7 separate regions of the Homo sapiens genome follow, and regions 2, 3, 4, 5, 6 and 7 are each linked to region 1. The links are contacts of gene promoters, found by promoter capture Hi-C in blood cells and fetal thymus (Javierre and others, 2016). All regions are on one chromosome and are shown on one strand. The core of a region is centred on a gene start or on the middle of the fragment in contact, and the rest is flanking DNA. Distances in the headings are between cores, read along the strand shown.

Region 1 (2,867 bases), core at 297-2,796:
AAGCCACAGCGCCCAGCCTCATTATCTTATTATTTGTTTAGTGGCTCTCTCTCCCGCTGGCCTTCAACTCCACAAGGGCAGTGACCCTGACTGTCAGGGACATAAACCAGCAGTCCATGGGCATGCATATTTTTGTTTGGCTTGCAGTGTTGTATCAAAAATTCAATTTATTCCTGTAATCCCAGCACTTTGGAAGGCCGAGGCAGGCAGATCACCTGAGGTCAGGAGTTCAAGACCAGCCTGGCCAACATGGTGAAAACCCATCTCTACTAAAAATATTTTTAAAAAACTAGCCGGGCGTGGTGGTGGATGCCTGTAACCCCAACTACTCGGGAGGCTGAGGCAGAAGAATTGCTTGAACCCAGGAGACGGAGGTTACAGTGAGCCGACACAGTGCCACTGCACTCCAGCCTCGGCGACAAAGTGAGACTCTGTCTCAAAAAAAAAATCAATTTATTGGCAATATTTAAAAATCAAGAGATTTTATGTAAACACCTGGATTTCCTGGCACTCTTGAAAAAGATCTAGCACAATGGGCTGGAGGTGAGCGGCCACTGCAGCCCGTAGTTCTTACTCCAGCCCCCAGTCCACCCCATTACATCACACTTGGCTGTTTGCACTCCTTGATCCTACTTACCTGCCTATCCCCGGAGGCCTTTGAGTCTAAAATTCCTGGTCTCTTTTCACCACTCTACTTACCCCTACAACTGAGTGTTGAAATAAATAAACTGAAAGCAAGAAAGGTTGACTGTTTTGAAGGAAATATTTCATCTAAACTCTAGGAAGGCTCTACTCCACACAAGCTGTGCCACATGAAGGACGCCCTCTGGTGCCAGAATTATTCTCGGGGGGGCCCAGAACCAGTTACTATACCTTGAACTCATGCCAATGAGCTGGGCACACTTTTTCCTTAGATGGATTAATCTAATCTAAATGAAAATTTTAGATCGGATTAACCCACTTTAGAATAAATCTAAATGGCAATCTAAATTATGCGGTTACCGTTTTGATTATATTATTGTATGTTGATTAATCAAAGTGCCGCCCTAAATCCCGCTGTGACTCCGTGGGTAGTAGGGTGGGTAGGTAGGTGGGTTTGACACAACGGGGATTTCTCGTGTTTGGGAGGCTCATCATCTAAATCCTCTCTAAGGAGTGTTCATTTACCATATGAAACTCCCCTTTTCGAGAAGACAGGGATGCAACAGGGTCAAGAAGGTGGAACGTACCAAAGGACACAGTGCGTAGGCGCGCTCGAAACCTGGGCCGGTATTCTCGGCACCCAGACACCGTCCACTCGCACTGCGCAGGCTCCGAGACAGATCAAGCTTTCCCTCCCCCTCCCAGCTCTCCTAGAGTCAAGAGGACGCCCTCCTGCCGCAGACTTCCTGCGCAAGCGCCATCCCATGTCCCCGCCTCCAAACCAATTGGAAGCGGCGCCGCCTGGGCGCTTGGGGCACGACGCTGTGGGTGGGGTCAGGACGTGAGGGCAGCGCGCTGGCGTCAGAGGCGCGGCTATATAACTAAACACAGGCACCGCCCCTCTGCCCCAGTCACTGAGCCGCCGCCGAGGATTCAGCAGCCTCCCCCTTGAGCCCCCTCGCTTCCCGACGTTCCGTTCCCCCCTGCCCGCCTTCTCCCGCCACCGCCGCCGCCGCCTTCCGCAGGCCGTTTCCACCGAGGAAAAGGAATCGTATCGTATGTCCGCTATCCAGAACCTCCACTCTTTCGGTAAGCTATGGGAAAGGTCGCGGGCCCGGGTGGGGCAGCGGGGCCTTCCGGGCCCGGAGACGTGTTCCGGGAAGTTGCCAAGCGCTCCGGGCCTTCGTAAGCTCGGGCAGGGGAAACTTGACCAGGGTCGCAGGGCAGCGGGATCAAGGCCTGGGCCCCGGGGTCGGACCCTGAGCGCGACCGGAAGGAGCAGGCGGTAGGTCAGCCCTTGGGCGGGCCCGGCGTCTCAGTGGCGCATTTACTAATGGCTCCTGGGCCTCCTCGGGCCACACCCGCCCCTCCCGTCACCATTGCGTCACGTCCGTTACGTCACCACCCGTTGTCACGGATCCGGAGGGAAAGGCGGTGCCAGCCCTAAGTGGCAAGCGGGTGCACCAATGGGGGTGGGAGGCTTAGCCCCGCCTCGGGAGCTCGGGTTCCGGCGGGTTGCATCAGCTGGGTGGGGCACCGCCTGGCAGCCCGGACTCCCCCGACATGTGATCGGCTTCCCAGGGAGGGCGGGAGGCCCGGGCGTTCCCCGAGCCTGGGGAAGCTGGCCGTCCCGGACTGACCTGCTCGGGGAGAGCCAGCAAAGGACACATTCGGCCTGGCCCAAGCCCTGACGATTTCAGTGTTGTTTTCTGCACGCGCAAAACACCTGGGGACCGAGGGGATGGCAGTGGCATCCTATCTTTGACAGCTCTGAACGAGCTTAACCTTTTTTTTCAGACCCCTTTGCTGATGCAAGTAAGGGTGATGACCTGCTTCCTGCTGGCACTGAGGATTATATCCATATAAGAATTCAACAGAGAAACGGCAGGAAGACCCTTACTACTGTCCAAGGGATCGCTGATGATTACGATAAAAAGAAACTAGTGAAGGCGTTTAAGAAAGTAGGTCTTCAGTGAGATTTTGGGAAAGTCATAATGGATTTGTCCACAAGGGGGTGCCAGCTGTGTTGTATGTATTGTTAGCGGAAGGGGTGATAAATGCGTTCATGCTCTTGCTAGGCCTAATTCGTTTTCCTTTGTGCTTGCAGAAGTTTGCCTGCAATGGTACTGTAATTGAGCATCCGGAATATGGAGAAGTAATTCAGCTACAGGGTGACCAACGCAAGAACATATGCCAGTTCCTCGTAGAGGTGAGTTCAGTCACTA
Region 2 (3,103 bases), core at 547-3,046, 1.1 Mb before region 1:
CATTCCCCTTTTTCACTGAATTACCCCTTAGCTCCTGAGTTTAAGTCCACGTTTACGCCCAACCACACTCTTCACGGTTCAACGCTCCACCCGCCCTCCACTGACTCATCTAGAGGTCGAGTCTCGAGGTTTCTTTAAAACACGTAAGTGTCTTTCGGTTACTCTAGAGAAAGCCCGCTCTGACTGTCAGGGAGAAATGAGAAACCTCAAAGTTTTGATAAGTCACAACGGGTGAGATCTGAGGAGCAAGAACTGTGTTTCTGTTGAACTCTGTTGATAACCCCTTCTCCCGGACGCTGTCCCACTCCTGCTGTTCCCGTCAGGGGAGGGGAGTTGGGGGAGTGCTGGCGTGTGTGCCTGTGATTTCTCATTCCAGGTGTTTTGGAGGAGGTGGATGAGCAAGGGTCTTGTAGGTCCAAAACAGGTGGCTTTCAAGAAACATCACAGGGAAACTTAGGGGAACTCTTGTATGTGGCAAAAGGGAGCCTGGTCAGTGGCCTTGAGTCAGATCATCCCTGTCTGTTACAAAGTCATAAAGAAACTGGTCTTGGGCAGCAGCTTCAGTGAGACCAATGAAGTTGGGAATCTCTGGGGCTAAGGAGTGGTTGACCTAGATGTTGGGTGTTTTCTGAGTTCTTGAGTTTTCAGTAATGATCATCATGAAAATTCCCTAGAACTCCAACCGGAGCCCCCAACATGAGAGACTGCCCATCCAGGAAAGAAAATTATTGGCTGGCTGCCCCCATCTCCAAACCATGAACTTCCATCCCCACATTTTTCCAGGTCCTCCAGACTGCCCAGGAAATCACAGTTGCCCAATCAGCTCGCCCCAAGAGCGACCCCAAGCTTTTTCCTCTTTGAACTTCCTCACCTGCCAACACAACTTTTCTCTCTCTCTCTTTTTTTTTGGATAAGGGAGGCAGAGGAGAAGCAGGGAGGTGGTGAGAGGTCTAGAGATCTGGGGAATCCACTTTCAGACAGTAGGCAGGGATGGGTGAGAGCCTGGTAGACCTTGCATTTTCTATGTTATCAACTGCTGTATCCAATGAGATAATTCATATTCACTGAGCTCTCACTGCGTGCCACACTGTCTGCATGTATGGTCTCATTTCATCCTCTCAAAAGCCCCATGAGGTAGGCGCTACTATTATCCCCATTTACCAATGAGAAACTGAAACACAGCAAGTAACTTTCTCAGAGTCACACAATGGCCAGCAGGGGAGCAGGCTTTGAAACCCTCCAACTCCAGCAACCACACTCCTAACCATCCTTCTGTGCGGCCACTGGGTCTGTATGTGTCTCTCCCTCATAACATCTCATGAGCTACCCTGGTGATCCTCATCTTAGATTCCAGAAAATAGAGGCCCAGAGAGATTAAGCCAAATGCCTGGGGCCACACAGCTGCTAAGAGAGGGACCTGAGATTTGAACAGGATAGCAAGGTTTGGGCTCTGGCTACTGCATCAGGCTGTGTTTCTGATGAGCCTGCTGCATCTAGGACGCTCCACGGAGCATGAGGGGAATCTTTGCTCCCCATGCCCCACTGGCCACCAGTGCTTCCTGCTTCCATCCCCCAACATCCCGGCCCCCAAAAGAGCCGGCCCCACCTCTGTTCTGACACGGGCTTTGCTGCCTCTTTGCTGCCACAGAACTCCTTCCAAAACACAAATCTCATCCTTTAATTCACCTACTTGAAAAATAAAAATCTTTGATGGGTCCCCATTGTTTTCAGGATAAAGTTCAAATTCCTTAGGGATGCCGTACCACGTTTTAAGGATTGGGTCTCCTGTGCCTGCGTCCTTCCTCCTCATCTTCCTCCTTGGCATGGCCAGCTACTCCACCCTCCCCTCCGCTTGCTTCTTTCTTGTCTCTGTTACTGTTGTCTCAGCTGACCATCTACACGGCTGCAGCCTTAGTCCCCAGGACACTCTGCTTGTCAGCATGGAGTTTTTGAAATAATAGATTTGAATGCCTTTAGGTGGGGCATGCACCCTCTGGGTCACTCTACTCCCCTCCACTTCCTGCACCTTATGCCCATTCCCTCTATTACCTTGTCGGCCTCTGATGGCAATGGAGTTTGCCATTCCTGCCACATCCTGGGCCCATTGCAGCTCCTTGTTGGGCTTGACAACTCCTACACACCCTTGAAAACCCACCTTAAATACCTCTCTGACCCAGGTTCACTATTCCCTTCTTGTCTTGCCCTTGCCCTGGTCAATGCTGTATCTTATTCTGTTGCAGTGGCTTTGTGACATATGTGTCACTCTCCCCACCAGACTGGTCATCCCTGAATCCCTCAAACAATGAGAGTTGCCTGAATGTCCGAAGCAAAGAGGAGAGATTTTTTCCAACAGCGACCCCAGGCTGCAGCGTTCCTCTCCTCCCCAGCCAAGTTTCTGGCAGGCAAGAAACTGGCCCTGAATTAGCTTCAGCATCCCCCTTTGCCACCATTTATGTCCGAGCTGTGAGGCACACATCTCTCATGGGTTCATTTTTTCCTTGCTTTGCTTTTGAGAATTATGAAAGATCTTCGGTCTCATTGCTCGAAGGTGGGGAGGGTGCCTCAGAGCTGCTCATTCAAACCGTGAAAAAGGCCAGCTCAGCCCTGCTTGGGAGTTTTCATTTTGTGTAACAGAAACCCTCCCTCCTCACCCACCTCTTGCTCCTTGCTGGGCAGATGAAGAGCAGAACAACAGATCCTCCAAGGCCCACCCACCCCATCAACGGCCCAGAGAGCCCGTTTTGAGTAAAGCTTGTCAGCGGCTTCCCCTCCTACCAGTATTTCGGGTTTGACCGTTGGGGCTCTCTCAAGTTGAGTGAAGTGGCAAGAATATCCCTTCTTCCTGGACCAGAGATTACCCTCTCTCCCTGCATCAAAGCCTAGGAGTCTAGCACCCCTAAACCTAGTCTGGGGTAAGACACTCTGCACATCTTCCCAACCCCCTGTTCAGTCATGTAGATGGCTTGAAATCAATCAGCCAGGGTGGGAGAATTTACACCATGGAAATTGGCAAGCACTACAAATTCAGGACTTTCCCTCCACCCTGGAGTCAGCTACCAGTGCTCCACCCCGGGGAGCTGCTTTTCAAATGCCCAGTAGCACA
Region 3 (3,032 bases), core at 234-2,733, 1.3 Mb after region 1:
TTTTAGTAGAGACAGGGTTTCCCCATGTTGGTCAGGCTGGTCTCAAACTCCTGACCTCAAGTGATTCACCGCCTCAGCCTCCCAAAGTGCTGGGATTACAGGCGTGAGCCACTGCACCCAGCCTTTTTTTTTTTTTTTTTTTTTTTTTTAAGAGACAAGATTCACTGTGTTGCCCAGGCTGGCCTCGAACTCCTGGGCTCAAGCAGTCCTCCTGCCTCAACCTGCTGGAACTATAGGCACATGTTACCAGTGGGCCCAGCTGCTGGGATTGGCACTTTTTTTTTTTTTTTAGTCAGAATCTCACTCTGTTGCCCAGGCTGGAGTGCAGTGGTGTGATCCGGCCCGGCTAATTTTTTGTATTTTAGTAGGGACAGGGTTTCACCATGGTGGCCAGGATGGTCTCGTGATCCACCCGCCTGGACCTCCCAAAGTGCTGGGATTACAAGGCATGAGCCACTGCGCCTGGCAGTTTTGTGAACTTGAACTGTGGACTTTATCTGTCCTGATTGTGTTTCTCATTCATTCAGCAATTATTATTTTTTGAGATGGAGTTTCGCTCTTGTCACTCAGGCTGGAGTGCAACAGCGCGATCTTGGCTCAATGCAACCTCTGCCTCCCAGGTTCCAGCTATTCTCCTGCCTCGGCCTCCCAAGTAGCTGGGATTACAGGAATACACCACCACACCCGGATAATTTTTGTATTTTTTTAGTAAAGACGGGGTTTCACCACGTTGGCCAGGCTGGTGTCTAACTTGGGATCTCAGGTGATCTGCCCACCTGGGCCTCCCAAAGTGCTGGGATTACAGGTGTGAGCCACCGCACCCGGCAGTTTTGTGAACTTGAACTATGGGCGTTATCTGTCCTGACTGTGTTTCTCATTCATTCAGCAATTATTGTTTTATTTATTTTTTGAGATGGAGTTTCACTCTTGTCACCCAGGCTGGAGTGCAATGGCACCATCTCAGCTCAATGCAACCTCTGCCTCCGGGTTCCAGCTATTCTCCTGCCTCGGCCTCCCAAGTAGCTGGGATTACAGGAATGCACCTCCACGCCCGGCTAATTTTTGTATTTTTTTAGTAAAGGTGGGGTTTCACCATGTTGGCCAGGCTGGTCTCTAACTCCTGACCTCAGGTGATCTGCCCGCCTGGGCCTCCCAGAATGCTGGGATTACAGGTGTGAGCCGCCGCACCCAGCTCATTCAGCAATTATTTTATCAATGTTCAATGTGCCCAGCATTATTCTAGGCTCTAGGGAAATAATCCATTGACAAAGCAGGGTCTACCAATGGGCTTGTCGGAGATTGCTGGGAATGGTTGATGGGGGCCAGTTTGCAGTTGGGGTGAGGTGGCTTTCCTTGAGGCAGCCTGGCTGAGTGAAGTCGACTTTGCTGACCAAGAAGGCTCCTCCCAGGGGTGGGGAAGCCTCGGCAGGGGGCGGCATGTGAGCGCCAGAAGGCAGGGATTTCACGGAAATGAAAGTGGAAGCAAACAGCCTGCGAGCAGAGCCTCCTGAGGTGTATTTCGGGTCTTGCTGGGGCTGAGAGAGACCACAGCCCTTTGGGGGGTACAAACAAGAGTTCAGTTGCTGTGAATTCTGCCACTGTGCCCAGCTCTGAAGCCTCAGCTCTTGCCAAACAGACCCGAGACCCATGTCAGCCCCACTGGATGCCGTAAGTGAGGAGGAGGGAGTTGGGAAGTGGGGAAACAGGAGTAATCCTCTTGGCTAGGAACCTGCAGATATCTCAGGGCCTGGCAGCCAAGCCTCACCCTGCCCATCTCAGACCTGCTGAAGGGCTGGGGAGAAACACAGGGCTGGGGTTGCCTCTGCAAGAGTTGGTTCCCTAACCTATTGCCTCAGACAGGAGGAGCTCATTAAATCCTGTGTGTGTACACTTCTCTGGAGAGAGAATCTGTAGTTTCCATCAGATACTCAGCGGGTTCTGTGACCCAAATAACAATTGTTCTAGGCCGGGCGTGGTGTCTCACGCCTGTCATCCTAGCACTTTGGGAGGCCTTGGCAATACAGTGAAAATCCGTCTCTACTAAAATACAAAAAATTAGCTGTGTGTGGTGGTGTGCGCCTGTAATCCCAGCTACTTGGGAGGCTGAGACAGGAGAATCACTTGAACCTGGGAGGCGGAGGTTGCAGTGAGCCGAGATTGCATCACTGCACTCCAGCCTGGGTGACACAGCGAGACTCTGTCTAAAAAAAAAAAAAAAAAAATTAAACTAAAGGAATTAGGCTGGGTGTGTTGGCTCACACCTGTAATCCCAGCCAGCACTTTGGGAGGCTGAGGCGTGTGGATCACTTGAGGTTAGGAGTTCGAGACCAGCCTGGCCAACATAGCAAAACCCCATCTCTACTAAAAACACAAAAATTAGCCAGGCATGGTGGCACACACCTGTAATCCCAGCTACTAGGGAGACTGAGGCGGGAGAATTGCTTGAACCTGGGAGGCAGAGGTTGCAGTGAGCCGAGATTGTACCACTATGCTCCACTCTGGGCAACAGAGGGAGACTGTCTCTCACACACACACACACACAAAATTTATATATATATATATATATATATATACTATAAGAATTATACTTTAAGAATCACACTAGGTAATCCATAGATTAACACGGTAAAAACTTATCCCACTGCTTAGCACCTACAGAGCATTCAATATGTGTTTCTTCTTAATATTATTATTGCCAACCTTTTCAGAACCCCAGTTCCCCAAGGACAATCCCTTTTTTTTTTTTTTTTTTGAGACGGAGTCTCACTCTGTCTCCTAGGCTGGAGTACAGTGGCATGATCTCGGCTCACTGCAACCTCTGCCTCCCGGGTTCAAGCGATTCTCCTGCCTCAGCCTCCCAAGTAACTGGGAGTACAGGCACGTTCCACCATGCCTGGCTAATTTTTTGTATTTTTAGTAGAAATGGAGTTTCACCGTGTTAGCCGGGATGGTCTTGATCTTCTGACCTCGTGATCTGCCCCCCTCAAGCTCCCAAAGTGCTGGGATTACAGGTGTAAGCCACCATGCCCGGA
Region 4 (3,153 bases), core at 29-2,528, 1.4 Mb before region 1:
TTCAGAGTTCAAATTCTAGCTCTTCCACTTACTAGTTGTGTGACCTTGGGCAAGTTTACTCAACTCCCCTCTACTGTAGTTCCCTCATTTGTAAAGTGAAATAACACCAGGTTCATGGGGGTGCTTGTGAAGATTAATAAGGTGATGTAGGTAAAATACTGAGCACAGCCCCTGGCATACACTTAAGCACTCAATATTGGCTCTCTTCATGAACTAGGTACCAATTCACTGATGATCGTAATATTGTTGCTTCCCTCTTTCTAGGCTTTATGGCTCTATTTTGTTTGTTACTGAGGGGTAAAAGATAAATGTTTACCATCACCTAGAATTGGGTTCTGGCCTCTAAAGGAACCTGAGGCTTAGATGAATTATTGGCTTTGGAAGCTGGCCTTCAAATTACTGCGCTAATTTATATTTTTCATTAAAAACTCAGCTTGCCTCTTCTATATAGCTGTCTTCCCTGGCCCTGAAACCCTAGTGTTTCGCCATAAAAGATTTTAAAATTAAGGGGTCATAATTCCCTCCCCATGATGTGTGGATTAATGGTAAGAAGATGCACAGAACATAATATTCTTAGGTTGAACGAAATAAAAGTAAAGAGTTGGCTCTGTTTCTCACCTTTGAAGCACAAATCAAGAGATACTATGATGAAGCATAGTTTTTCTTTATATAGGTGTGTAGAACTTTACCATAAAAATCACTAGTTCAGCCATCAGGAGATCTGGATCCTAGGCTCTTCACTGTCACCAAGATGCTGTGACCTCTAACCTTGTATAGAAGTTTGCTTTGTACTTTGCGAGGTTGAGCATTAGAGAGGTAAGGAAAGTGCCTAGCATCATACCTGGCGCACAGAACCCAAAACGGTAGGTATCATGTAGCAGTTCTGAAAATCTAGCCCATCAGGATGATGCAAATGGGTACTTTAGGCAGTGAGAAGGGGAACCACATCTTGACACTTCCAGTCGAAGGAAGAGTGCGACTGCGCGGCAGCAAAGACTACGCCTCCCAGCGTGCTTTGCGGCGGGCCGGCCCGCTTTACCCAGAGTCGCCCTGCCGCAATCGCGCGTCTTTCCACCGAGGCCCCGGATGTAGATTCCCTCCCCCGTTCAGTGGTCGTGGCCTCACAGCGACTCTAAGACTTGGGGCTCTCTCATTGGCTGTAACTCTTCCACTGGATTGGTAGCAAAAAAAGAGGCGGTGCCCAAGGCGAAAGGCTCTGTGACTACAGCCAATCAGAATCGAGGCCGGGCTTTGGCGGGAGGTGGGAACGCTGTGGCCATTCGGATTTGGCGCGAGCGCGGCTGGAGTTTGCTGCTGCCGCTGTGCAGTTTGTTCAGGGGCTTGTGGTGGTGAGTCCGAGAGGCTGCGTGTGAGAGACGTGAGAAGGATCCTGCACTGAGGAGGTGGAAAGAAGAGGATTGCTCGAGGAGGCCTGGGGTCTGTGAGGCAGCGGAGCTGGGTGAAGGCTGCGGGTTCCGGCGAGGCCTGAGGTGAAGTGAAGGGAAAAGAGCTGAGCTCGCTGGAGGTCTGAGGTCGGGATCAGGGAAAGGGCAGGTGCCCTCGGGGTAGTTCTAGCAGTTATGCGTGGTGTGAAGGAGGTGAAAGTTGTAGGAAGGAAATATTCTGGGGTGCGTTGAGAGCTGCCTAGAATGAGGACTGAGTGCAGGGGCGGAAAGAACTGAGGGAAGACTGAGCTGCAGTGTGAGGGCTTGGGATAGAAGAGACTAAATGTGGCGGGTGCTGGGCTGAACTGGTGATAAAGACACCCCGCGTGCCTGGAGGGAGGAAACTAGAAGTTCTATATAAATCAATTCATGTAACTTTTTTTTTTTTTTGAGACGGAGTCTCGCTCTTGTCGCCCAGGCTGTAGTGCAGTGGTGCGATCTCGGCTCACTGCAACCTCTGCCTGCCGGGTTCAAGCCATTCTCCTGCCTCAGCCTCTTCATGTAGCTGGGACTACAGGCGCCCGCCACCACGTCCGGCTAATTTTTTTTTTTTTTTTGAGACGGAGTCTCGCTCGGTCTCCCAGGCTGGAGTGCAGTGGCGCGATCTCGGCTCACTGCAAGCTCCGCCTCCCGGGTTCATGCCATTCTCCTGCCTCAGCCTCCCGAGTAGCTGGGACTACAGGCGCCCACCACCACGCCCGGCTAATTTTTTGCATTTTTAGTAGAGACGGGGTTTCACCGTGTTAGCCAGGATGGTCTCGGCCCGTCTCGGCCTCCCAAAGTGTTGGGATTACAGGCGTGAGCCACCGCGTTTGGCCGTAATTTTTGTATTTTTAGTAGAGACGGGGTTTCTCCATGTTGGTCAGGCTGGTCTCGAACTCCTGACCTCAGGTGATCCGCCCGCCTCAGCCTCCCAAAGTGCTGGGATTACAGGCGTGGGCCACCGCGCCCGGCCCATTTCAGGTAACTTGTTATTGCATCGCTCAATTGGTTAAGAACTTGGGCTCTGGCACCAGATGCCCGGGGTTACATTCCTGTTTTTCTGTGACTTTGGGCCACTGTTTATCTCAGTTTTCTCATGTGTAAAATAAAGGCTAATAATAGTACCTACTCCTAAGATCGTTGTTAAACGAGTTGGTACCTAAAGTGTTTATAACAGCGCCCTTCCACGTAGTAGGTAGACAACAAATGTCAGCTGTTCTTGCATAGATTTGGATGTGAAGCAAAAGTGAATGCTAAAATAAGTGTGATAACATAATTAGGAAATAAGTGTTAATCATCAGTATAAATAAATTCCATGTTAGTTATTTTCTCTTCACTTTCACATATTGACTAGTTGTCCTCTTATTTTTTTTAATCTAGCTGTGCTGTCGTCATGCCTCAAACCCGATCCCAGGCACAGGCTACAATCAGTTTTCCAAAAAGGAAGCTGTCTCGGGCATTGAACAAAGCTAAAAACTCCAGTGATGCCAAACTAGAACCAACAAATGTCCAAACCGTAACCTGTTCTCCTCGTGTAAAAGCCCTGCCTCTCAGCCCCAGGAAACGTCTGGGTAAACCATCCATTATATCACTTTTTCACTAGCAGCTCGTGACCTTTCTTTTCTTGGTAAGATGTGTGTCCTTTGAAGGAGCTTTCTAAGTTCAGTTAAGACTTCTTTTTTTTTTTTTTTTTTTTTTTGAGACAGAGTCTCGCTCCATCTCCCAG
Region 5 (2,920 bases), core at 355-2,854, 1.3 Mb before region 1:
GCCCTGGCTACAGCAGGTTTGGTAGAAATGATACTTTTTGTTTTTACTTTTATCTTTTTTAAATTTTTATTTGGAATGATACTTCTTATGAAAGATTTGACCAGATCTTTATATTAAAGGATTTACTCACCTAGAATCTCATCAAAGATTTTGTACAAACCAGGAACAAAAGTGACTTCCCTATAGTTAATGCCAACATCTTCATCGTAAACCCACATTTGCTAGAAATAAGGCAAAGAAATACTGTTATTTTTATTCTATATTCATTGTTCTGTTATCATGATTACCATAAAGTGTTCATATTAAGTATTACCATATTTAGGCCAGTTCCAGTGACACTCAGTACATGAGAGATACAGAAAGGTCACACTCAGTACATGAAAGGTACAGAAAGAAGAGTATCCATTTCAACTACTAGGTTAACTGCCTTTGATGAGCTTGATTTTACCTGGGTCACTAATTCCACAGAACCAATGTAGGTGTCTGGGCGGAGCAAAATATGTTCCAATTGTGTTTTCTTTTGATAGATTCTTTCAACAGACAGTCTTTTCTTAGCATCTTCATTTTTCTTTATTTTGTTGACTTGCATATTTTCATTTACAGGCTAGCAATTAAAAAAAAAGAGAGAAAGAAGGGAATTTTTAATCATAAGTTTACCCTAAACTAGGAACAAAATGCCTACCATAGTGAGATGTCAACATGCATTGCAATCTGTTAGTAGGCAGTGGTGGAGTTGCCAGTTTTGTACAAATAGGACAATTTAAATTCGCTGCGGCCAGGTCCCCAGGTGTCAGGTTAAACAGACACATATTATCTCACCAAGTGGGTCTGTCTGGAAACCTCTTTTCTTGAGCAACATGGTAGATGTCATCAATAAAATACACCCACTTCTTTCAGTTCCTGCATACATTATTTACCGAGTGCCTATTATTATAAATTATTTACGGTGTCCCGAGCACACGACACCGTAAATAATTCTAGTTCGGCAGCAGCAGTTTGGGCGGCTATCCGTTCAATCCCTTGGCCACCTGAGCGTTGTGAACTCAGGAAGGGGGCGCTTTTGTAAGCTGGCCAGCTGCTCCAGAGAAACACTGTGCTAGGCTCTGCCCTTTCCAAGATCGGGGACATTCAAGACCGTTTTCAAGCAGCGGGCAGGAGGGGAAAGCATCTGTACGCGCGACTCAATAACGTCGCACCCGGGCCGCTGTAACATGGATCCACTACGGGACCAACGGACTCCTGCCCCTAGAAACAGGGCAACAACGCACGACACCCTGGAAGCCGGGTCATACTTCACTACTAGCACCAGAAGGGGCTTCCGCCTCTCCACGATCACCCCGGAACCGGGAATGGAGAATATGGGCTCCCAAGCCGGTCGCCGGCCTGACCGCAGCCCCAGAGCTTCACCCGTCACGGGCGGCCAGAGAGATGCCCGGGCCGCGCGGAGGCTCCACCGCCAGTCCCCCCCGCGAGCCGTACCTGCAATGGTGACACTTCCATGGTGACGGTCGTGAAGGGGCTCAAGAACCCTGAAAGCGACTAAACAGGCAGGACCCCACGAGACCACCCCCGACCAAGCCGCTTCTCCACAGACGCGCGTCGGTTAGGAGAGCTCCACTTGAACCTTCCTTTAGCCCGCCCGAAGCAGACCAGCCAATCCCTGACTCGCTCTCACCGTCTCCGTCCAGAAGAACCAATCGTAGCTTGCCTTTTATATCCACCTATGAACGGCTGAGTTGGCCGGGGTTTGTTTGAATAAACCAATCAGGTTAGGGAGGCGGGACTAGAGAGGCTTCAAAAGGCACCACTCGGCGTCATAGCGGAGAGATTGACAGGGAATCTGGCCAATGAGAAGGGCTCACTTGTTTTCTCGTGCGGAAAGCTTGGAAGAGATGGGCTTTGGAAGCGGGAAGGGGTGGCCTGAGGCAAAAGTGTGCAGGAGAAAAGCAAAGGATGTTTATTCTCCAGGAACTGCCAATCTATTTAAGATCCCTGAAATCTAAAAACTGTCCTCTGTTCTGACGTTGTTAGCGAGGGGAATGGGAGCCTTAGCTTCGTTTTCCTGAGGAAACTGAGTGCCGGCTTTCTGGACAGGCAGCCTGGCTGCTTGGTTGAAGCGAACAGATTCTGGCATCTGCCTCAACCCCGCCCCCTTTACCCTCGAATTCATTTTTCAAAGAAATAAAAGTAGGCTGTGTGCGGTGGCTGGAGTCTGTATTCGCAGCACATTGGGAGGCCGAGGCGGGAGGATCGCTGGAGCCTAGGAGTTGGAGACCAGCCTGGGCAACATAGCGAGACCCCGTCTCTACCCAAAAAGGAAAAAAAATAGCCAGGCGAGGCATCGCACACCTGTAACTCCAGCTCCGGAGGCTGAGGAGGGAGGATCGCTTGAGCCCCGGGGATCGGAGATCGAGGCGCCTTGAACCGTGATTGCTCCACTGCACTCCAGCCTGAGTGACAGAGCGAGGCCACCTCAAGAGATAAATACATAAATAAATAAATAATAAAAATAATTAAAATAAAAGTGCCACAGTTGTGGTTTGGGGGTTCCATATAGTGGAAGGATGTAGAAAGGCTTTGCAAAATGGAGGGCAGCATTCAGGTCCCCAGTAGAGCAGCGCTGGACTGCAACTGGTAAATCGAAAGGGATAACTTGTGGTGGTAGCCTCTTGAGCTGAGGGTGGGCTCAGCCGTCCGGGGCTGAAACCTTTTCCGCAGCCAGCTGGCCAGATACCCTCCGACTGGCTACTTTTGCTCACCTCCGTGAACCCTGCAGTCCAGAACAGCTGTTCCAATTTGACAAGGAAATGCCAAGACTGAAGCTTTTTTGTTTGCTTGTTTTTTTGTTGCTTTTTTTTTTTTTGAGATGGAATCTCACTCTGTCGCCCAGGCTGGAGTGCAATGGCGCGATCTAGGCTCA
Region 6 (2,812 bases), core at 246-2,745, 1.2 Mb before region 1:
CCAAACCCTCCACTTCCTCAATCCTCTGCAGCTTGTCAGCCGAGGAGAGCAGGATGCAGGGAAAACAGGAAGGAGGTGGACTCCAGGGGTCTGGGCCTCGGGCCTCTCTGCCCTTCCTGCCCCTGGGTAGGGAGAGATGGGTCAGCAGAAAACATTCTAGGAGAAATGCCAGCCTGGCACCCAGCATATCTGGGAAGGGGGGTCCTGGGGGAGAAAGTCGCTAATCTTGGGGCAGAGATGCCAGTGGCAATGGTAGAGGAGGGGTACTGAGACTGGGAGGGAGCAAGGGCCGAGCCCTTGGGTTCGCGGGGTACAACAGAGTCACGTTCCCTTTGAATCTCCATCCTCCACCAGCCAGAGGGTATCTGGCACCAGATAAGGATGGCTGGTAGCCTCCTCCTCTCTCAGCACTTTGAATGCAAGACAGAAGAGCCCTCAAAGGGCTGGGTAGGAATACCTCATCCTCTGGTTGGGTAGGAATACTCCATCCTGTAGTGGAGGAAAATAAGATCCCCTAGGGGTTTGGGGAGGGCATGGCATGAGAATTTTGTGGTTGTCCTCTGGATATAATGCAAACTGGCCTCCAGGAATATCTAGGGGCTGGGTGTGGAGGTTCATGCTTGTAATCCCAGCACTTTGGGAGGATTGCTTGAGGCCAGGAGTTCGAGACCAGCCTGAGCAATATAGCCAGACCCCCGTCTCTACAAAAAAAAAAAAAAAAAAATAGGCAACTGCAGTGGCTCATGCCTGTAGTCCCAGGTATTTGGGAGTCTGAGATGAGAAGTTCAAGGTTACAATGAGCTATGATCACGTGATTGCACTCCAGCCTGGGCGACTCTATTTCGTAAAAAAAAAAAAAAAAAAAAGTAGGCCGGGTGCAGTGGCTCACACCTGTAATCTCAGTATTTTGGGAGGCTGAGGAGGGTGAATCACCTGAGGTCAGGAGTTTGAGACCAGCCTGGTCAACATGGTGAAACCTCGTCTCTACTAAAAATACAAAAATTAGCTGGGCATGGTGGTGCGTGCCTGTAGTCCCAGCTACTTGGGAGGCTGAGGCAGGAGAATCACTTGAACCCGGGAGGTGGAGGTTGCAGTGAACCAAGATTGTGCCACTGCGCTTTAGCCTGGGTGACAGAGCGAGACTCTGTCTAAAGAAAACAAAACAAATAAACAAAAAAAACAAAAAACGGTGTCTTGGAATGGGGTGGCTTTAGGTCCCCTTTGGATGACACAGCCAAGGTCTGTAATGCCCCTCCCCCTTTCCTCCTTGCCTTGTCCTCCAGCCTCCAGCCATGCAATGGATGCAGGTATCTGGAGAGAGACGAGGGAAGCCTGGAGGTACCTACTGAGCAAGCTATGCCCGTGCCCTCCCACACCTCCTAGTCATCATAGAAGTAATCCCTTGCTGTGACCTGGGCCACATGGCACCATGTAAAAGGCACTCTCTAGAGTTCTGCTGCAGCCCTGCAGGGTCTGTGGGTGAGATAAGACGACCAAGCCCCTACCCACCCATCTTTTTAGCCTTACACAGTCAGTAGGCCACTGTCTGCTTTAGGTCCCAAGGTTTGGGCCCACTGGCCCGCGAATAGCTTGGTCGAGGGTACCTGTCTATTTTTTCTGCCTTTTCCTTTTGGGGCTGAGTGTCAGCAGGTGGCTGGGGGAGGGTGGCCACTTGGCATGCCCCCTTCTTTGGCTGCTATGGTCCAGCTGCCTCCTGTTTGCCCCAGGGGCAGATCTCCCCTTTCCGTCTCCAGCCACCCCTGCCTGCCCTCCTGTCACAGCTTTCCATGTGCTGGCCAGGTTGTGGCTTAACACCACTGAGGCCACCAGAGATGAGGCGGGGCGTGTGCATCAAAAGTCCACACCTCTGCATCCTGGTACTGATCCTAGACTCATGGAATCTGGGGGAGTGGACAGCGGAAAGATCAGCGTTTGGACGGGGAGTTCCTAAGCTGGGCTCTCAGTCCCTTTGGGACAGGGTTAGGGAACAGGCAGGCTGGGTTAATTTTTAGTCAATGCAGCAAATTCTGCCCCCCTACTTCAGTACTGGGAATCCAGTTATGTCATGGGAACAAGGGCATTCCCAGAAATTCTGTGCCTTGTGGGGAGGGGGAGGGAGGAGCATGGCCGCTTCCCATTTTTAATTTAGTACTGGCAAAGCTAGCAGTATTGGTGCCTCGGGTATCAGGAGTCTTTCCACTTAAAGACAGAGTGCTGCAGAGCTAAGTCTCTCCTCCTCCCCTTCCACCCAGTCTACTTCATTTTCCTAATTTTTAAAGTGGGGAGGGCAACAGGACCTGCCTCACAGGGTTGGGGCGTCTGGCATCGGGTAAGAGCTCAATAAATTGAAGTGATGAGGAAGATGGTGATGAAGAAGCTGATGCTGGGACTTAGGGAAGCGGTAGGACGAGGGAGCAAATTTGGGGCAACATTCAGAGGAGTTGAGAGGGGTGGGGTGGCCTTTGGTGCATTTTGCTGCTGTCAACATGGGAAGAACAGGCCAAGTTGCCTTATCTGTTTTTTATTCTGAGGCTGGCAGCATGACACAGCTGTTGGGGGTGATACCCCTTGAGCCAGACCTCAGAGAAAGGGCCTGGTACCCAGCACCAGCGGTCTTGGCTTCTCCAGCTAGAGTCTAGGGGAAGAGGGAAAAGACCTTTCTAGCAGGACAGGTGGGTGACCCTCTGGATCACAGCTGAAACTTCTGGTCGGGATGGCTGGGCCCACTCAGTTCATAGCCTAGGTGTCTCTCGAGGGCCAGGGGCTGGCGTTGGGGAGAAATTGTGAGGGTAAAATCAGGCAACAGGAAAGA
Region 7 (3,030 bases), core at 531-3,030, 1.1 Mb before region 1:
GACCAAGTGCTAGACGGGTGTGGAGGTGGCTGACCGAGGGTCCTTGCTGCCCCTTAAAGTCAAGGAGTTTAAGGCAGCCTTTCCTTTCTTTCAAGTGGCTCCTCAAAGGGAGCCATTATCTGCAGCTACTGTCTCAGTTTTATGTAAAGAGTATTTATCATTTGGGAATTTCCCCTCCCCATATAATACTTTTGACTCCTGAATGCATGCAAAAGAGCTGTAAGAAACTTTCTGGTGCTAAATGAGAAAATGTGTGAACATAAATGAGCTAGTTTAACTAAAAGTTCACCAAAATGTATTTTAAACATCAGGCTCTTAAAAACTCAATAGTTTGAAATTTGCATTTTAATCAGCGTTTGGCTAACAATATGAGATAAACTATTAGAGAAGTGTAGGTCATTCTGGCAAATAGAAAGTTCCATCATTTCACACTTAGAAAGCTGCCACGAAGAGCTTATTCTTGGAGTATAAAATGCAGAATTTAGGTTAAGCCAGTCATTTTGTAGATGAAATTGTACACTGGCAATTTCTTATGGTTCAACCTAATAGTAAAACATTTATAAACAATTGTATCATTACAAATACATTTAGACATCGTTTTCTGCTAAACTCAGTATTTTCCTTTCCATCCTGATCAAAGAAACATTATTGCAGTAAGCCACATTATAATTCAGCACGATTTCTTCTAAAAAGGCTCCGAGTTCCTTTGAGCTTGTTATTGTACAGTGGATTTTTCATTTGCAAAGACGTTAAGCCCTCCAAATGTGCAAATCATGAAGTCAGTTGTTGTTCCAGCAAGGTTTGCCCAGCGGTAAAAAACAAGATAAAACTAATGCACTAGCTGAAACCAGGTGGGGAGACCATGTGTGGTAGTGCTTGGGGGTGGAGGGAAACTATTTCTGAAATGAGGACTTAAAGTATAATACCAGCTTCACTGCCTGTTCACGAGAAACCAAAGCTTCAATTTAACTGCAGGCAATAGGAGTTTCACACTGTCAGCACCAACTGTCTAAAATCCAAAACTAGTATCTAAATGTGTAGGATCAAAACCAAAAATCTGGAGGGATCTAGTTAAACTTCAATATGCATGACCCCAGATTCCCCTTTAAAATATAGTCCAAGTATTTTATCTTTTCCATAGGGCATTGACATTATTGTGTTAATGTGAAATAGCTATTTACCTCTCCAAACCTCGGCTTTATAGAATAGATAATTATCACATCCTGTAGGAGAGCCATTTGAAAAGACAGCCTTGTTTACAGACAGGAGAAGTTACAGAATTTAAAACTGTTAGAAAATTGGGGGACTATGGGGCTGGGCGCGGTGGCTCACGCCTGTAATCCCAGCACTTTGGGAGGCAGAGGAGGGTGGATCAGGAGGTCAAGAGTTCGAGACCAGGCTGGCAAACATGGCAAAATCCTGTCTCTACTAAAAATACAAAAATTAGCCGGGCGTGGTGGCGGGCGCCTGTAATCCCAGCTACTCAGGAGGCTGAGGCAGGAGAATTGCTGAAACCCAGGAGCTGGATGTTGCAGTGAGCCGAGATGGCGCCATTACACTCCAGCCTGGGCAACAGTCAGACTGTCTCAAAAAAAAAGGAAAATTGGGTGACTATCGAGGATTCCCCTCTCCCATTTGTTAAAAAAAATTAACAAAATTTAGGCCCTCAGACTTTATGCATTCATACTCAAAATAAATGCACTAAAAATCAAGGAGCAGTAAGGGCACCAAGAAAGAGCAGTTTGATCTATTTTATAATTAAAACAGGCTCGAGTTCAAGCTACTTGCCCAGCACCTTTTGGGACATGGGAAAAAAACAAAGACCTCTACCATATCCCACATTCTCTAAACTGAGAACCATCTCAAACATCAAGTCTACATATATCACTCTGACCAAGTGGATTTTTACATCAATCTTCCCCTGCTGAGGTTCAGAGCTGTCAAATCCCAACTGAGGCCGGGCACAGTGGCTCACGCCTGTAATCCCAGCACTTTGGGAGACTGAGGCAGGCGGATCACCTGAGGTCACGAGTTCAAGATCAGCCTGGCTAACATGGTGAAACCCCATCTCTACTAAAAAATACAAAAATTAACCGGGCATGGTGGCGAGAGCCTGTAATCCCAGCTGCTCTAGAGGCTGAGGCAGAGAGAATTGCTTGAACCTGGGAGGTGGAGGTTGCAGTGAGCTGAGATCGCCACCACTGCACTCCAACCTGGGCGACAGATTGAGACGTCTCCCATCTGACTTAATTCCCTCATCAACTGATTGCCAGTGTTGTATGGACAGGCTTGGTCTGGATAGACTTGTCTTCCCACTGCTATTTCCAGCCGGGCAAAAGAACCACTTCCATTCTCTTAGAGCTTTCGATACCACAGTAAATAACCTGGTATCTTGCTGGGGCAGTTTTCCACCCATATTAAACTACATCTGCCCCATTTTGACTACTAGAAAATGTATCAAAGAGGCTGTCCAATTTGTCTGAGATGAGATGGCTGAAGTTCTTAGCCAAATAATGGCCAAAGCTCAAAACAGATCTATTTGATACAAATTCGTTCTTTGACACACAAGGAAACAGATGTCAAGAGTTGTTTCCACCCAGTATCAAGCTTCCTCCCCTCCTCTCTCAGGAGGCTGAACACACATTCCTAGTCACTAATGTGCTATGAACTGAATAGCAGTGAATCCACTTAAATTAACTCATGCTGGTACAGAGTCCTCTCCATATAGGCACAGGACTTAACATTTATCATTTAGCCATTCTTTCAAAGATAATTCAAACGTTACAGATTTCTCCATATTCCTGTTAATGTAGAAACATATTCCCTTTACTTTTGGAATCAAAGACCAACTTCCATATGTGACAATGACTATAATGTAAGAAAACTGATTTTCACAAGTGTCTTGTACAAATAAGCTACTGCAGCAGTTTATAGAGATAGTTGGGTGAGACAAGGGCCCTGAGTACACAAATTTATAATGGCTGAGTGGTCATTCCACACTGTCACTGCATTACAGAAAAAAACTGGATG

What was found. The method cuts DNA at HindIII sites, captures the fragments that hold promoters and counts their contacts. A CHiCAGO score of 5 or more calls a contact.
Region 2: a fragment that was not itself captured here is called in contact with the fragment with the promoter of EIF1 in region 1 in 1 of 17 cell types (naive CD8 T cells); the score reaches 5.4 in naive CD8 T cells.
Region 3: the fragment with the promoter of IFI35 here is called in contact with the fragment with the promoter of EIF1 in region 1 in 1 of 17 cell types (fetal thymus); the score reaches 5.5 in fetal thymus.
Region 4: a contact is called between the fragment with the promoter of CDC6 here and the fragment with the promoter of EIF1 in region 1, in 4 of 17 cell types (naive B cells, activated CD4 T cells, total CD8 T cells and 1 more). The highest score is 8.2, in naive B cells.
Region 5: a contact is called between the fragment with the promoter of TOP2A here and the fragment with the promoter of EIF1 in region 1, in 10 of 17 cell types (fetal thymus, erythroblasts, total B cells and 7 more). The highest score is 11.6, in fetal thymus.
Region 6: a contact is called between a fragment that was not itself captured here and the fragment with the promoter of EIF1 in region 1, in 1 of 17 cell types (endothelial precursors). The highest score is 5.3, in endothelial precursors.
Region 7: a contact is called between a fragment that was not itself captured here and the fragment with the promoter of EIF1 in region 1, in 1 of 17 cell types (naive CD8 T cells). The highest score is 5.7, in naive CD8 T cells.

What each region holds. Positions count from the first base shown.
Region 1 is chr17:41,687,339-41,690,205 of GRCh38, forward strand. It overlaps EIF1 (eukaryotic translation initiation factor 1), which reads left to right and starts at 1,547. Exons shown (of 4, transcript NM_005801.4): 1 at 1,547-1,731; 2 at 2,440-2,603; 3 at 2,750-2,851. The coding sequence starts at 1,701. RefSeq lists enhancers at 1,248-2,156, 2,142-2,231, 2,157-2,867 and a silencer at 1,372-1,761. The HindIII fragment of the contact is 2,180 bases long and covers 1,327-2,867 here.
Region 2 is chr17:40,560,899-40,564,001 of GRCh38, forward strand. All of the region lies in intron 1 of CCR7 (C-C motif chemokine receptor 7), which reads right to left. Among named protein-coding and RNA genes, the nearest start is that of CCR7, 3.0 kb to the right of the region's middle. RefSeq lists enhancers at 313-402, 423-502. The HindIII fragment of the contact is 1,905 bases long and covers 845-2,749 here.
Region 3 is chr17:43,005,301-43,008,332 of GRCh38, forward strand. It overlaps IFI35 (interferon induced protein 35), which reads left to right and starts at 1,484. Exons shown (of 7, transcript NM_001330230.2): 1 at 1,484-1,668. The coding sequence starts at 1,648. RefSeq lists an enhancer at 1,344-1,653. The HindIII fragment of the contact is 11,688 bases long and covers 1-3,032 here.
Region 4 is chr17:40,286,601-40,289,753 of GRCh38, forward strand. It overlaps CDC6 (cell division cycle 6), which reads left to right and starts at 1,279. Exons shown (of 12, transcript NM_001254.4): 1 at 1,279-1,490; 2 at 2,808-2,998. The coding sequence starts at 2,821. RefSeq lists enhancers at 1,039-1,846, 1,615-1,794, 1,825-1,894. The HindIII fragment of the contact is 8,752 bases long and covers 1-3,153 here.
Region 5 is chr17:40,416,292-40,419,211 of GRCh38, forward strand. It overlaps TOP2A (DNA topoisomerase II alpha), which reads right to left and starts at 1,605. Exons shown (of 35, transcript NM_001067.4): 1 at 1,480-1,605; 2 at 449-604; 3 at 131-221. The coding sequence starts at 1,500. RefSeq lists enhancers at 1,264-1,789, 1,511-1,600. The HindIII fragment of the contact is 7,280 bases long and covers 1-1,880 here.
Region 6 is chr17:40,445,465-40,448,276 of GRCh38, forward strand. The region is part of intron 1 of IGFBP4 (insulin like growth factor binding protein 4); the gene reads left to right. Among named protein-coding and RNA genes, the nearest start is that of IGFBP4, 3.4 kb to the left of the region's middle. The HindIII fragment of the contact is 3,027 bases long and covers 1-2,812 here.
Region 7 is chr17:40,624,635-40,627,664 of GRCh38, forward strand. It overlaps SMARCE1 (SWI/SNF related BAF chromatin remodeling complex subunit E1), which reads right to left. Exons shown (of 11, transcript NM_003079.5): 11 at 328-3,030. Among named protein-coding and RNA genes, the nearest start is that of SMARCE1, 22 kb to the right of the region's middle. The HindIII fragment of the contact is 1,649 bases long and covers 957-2,605 here.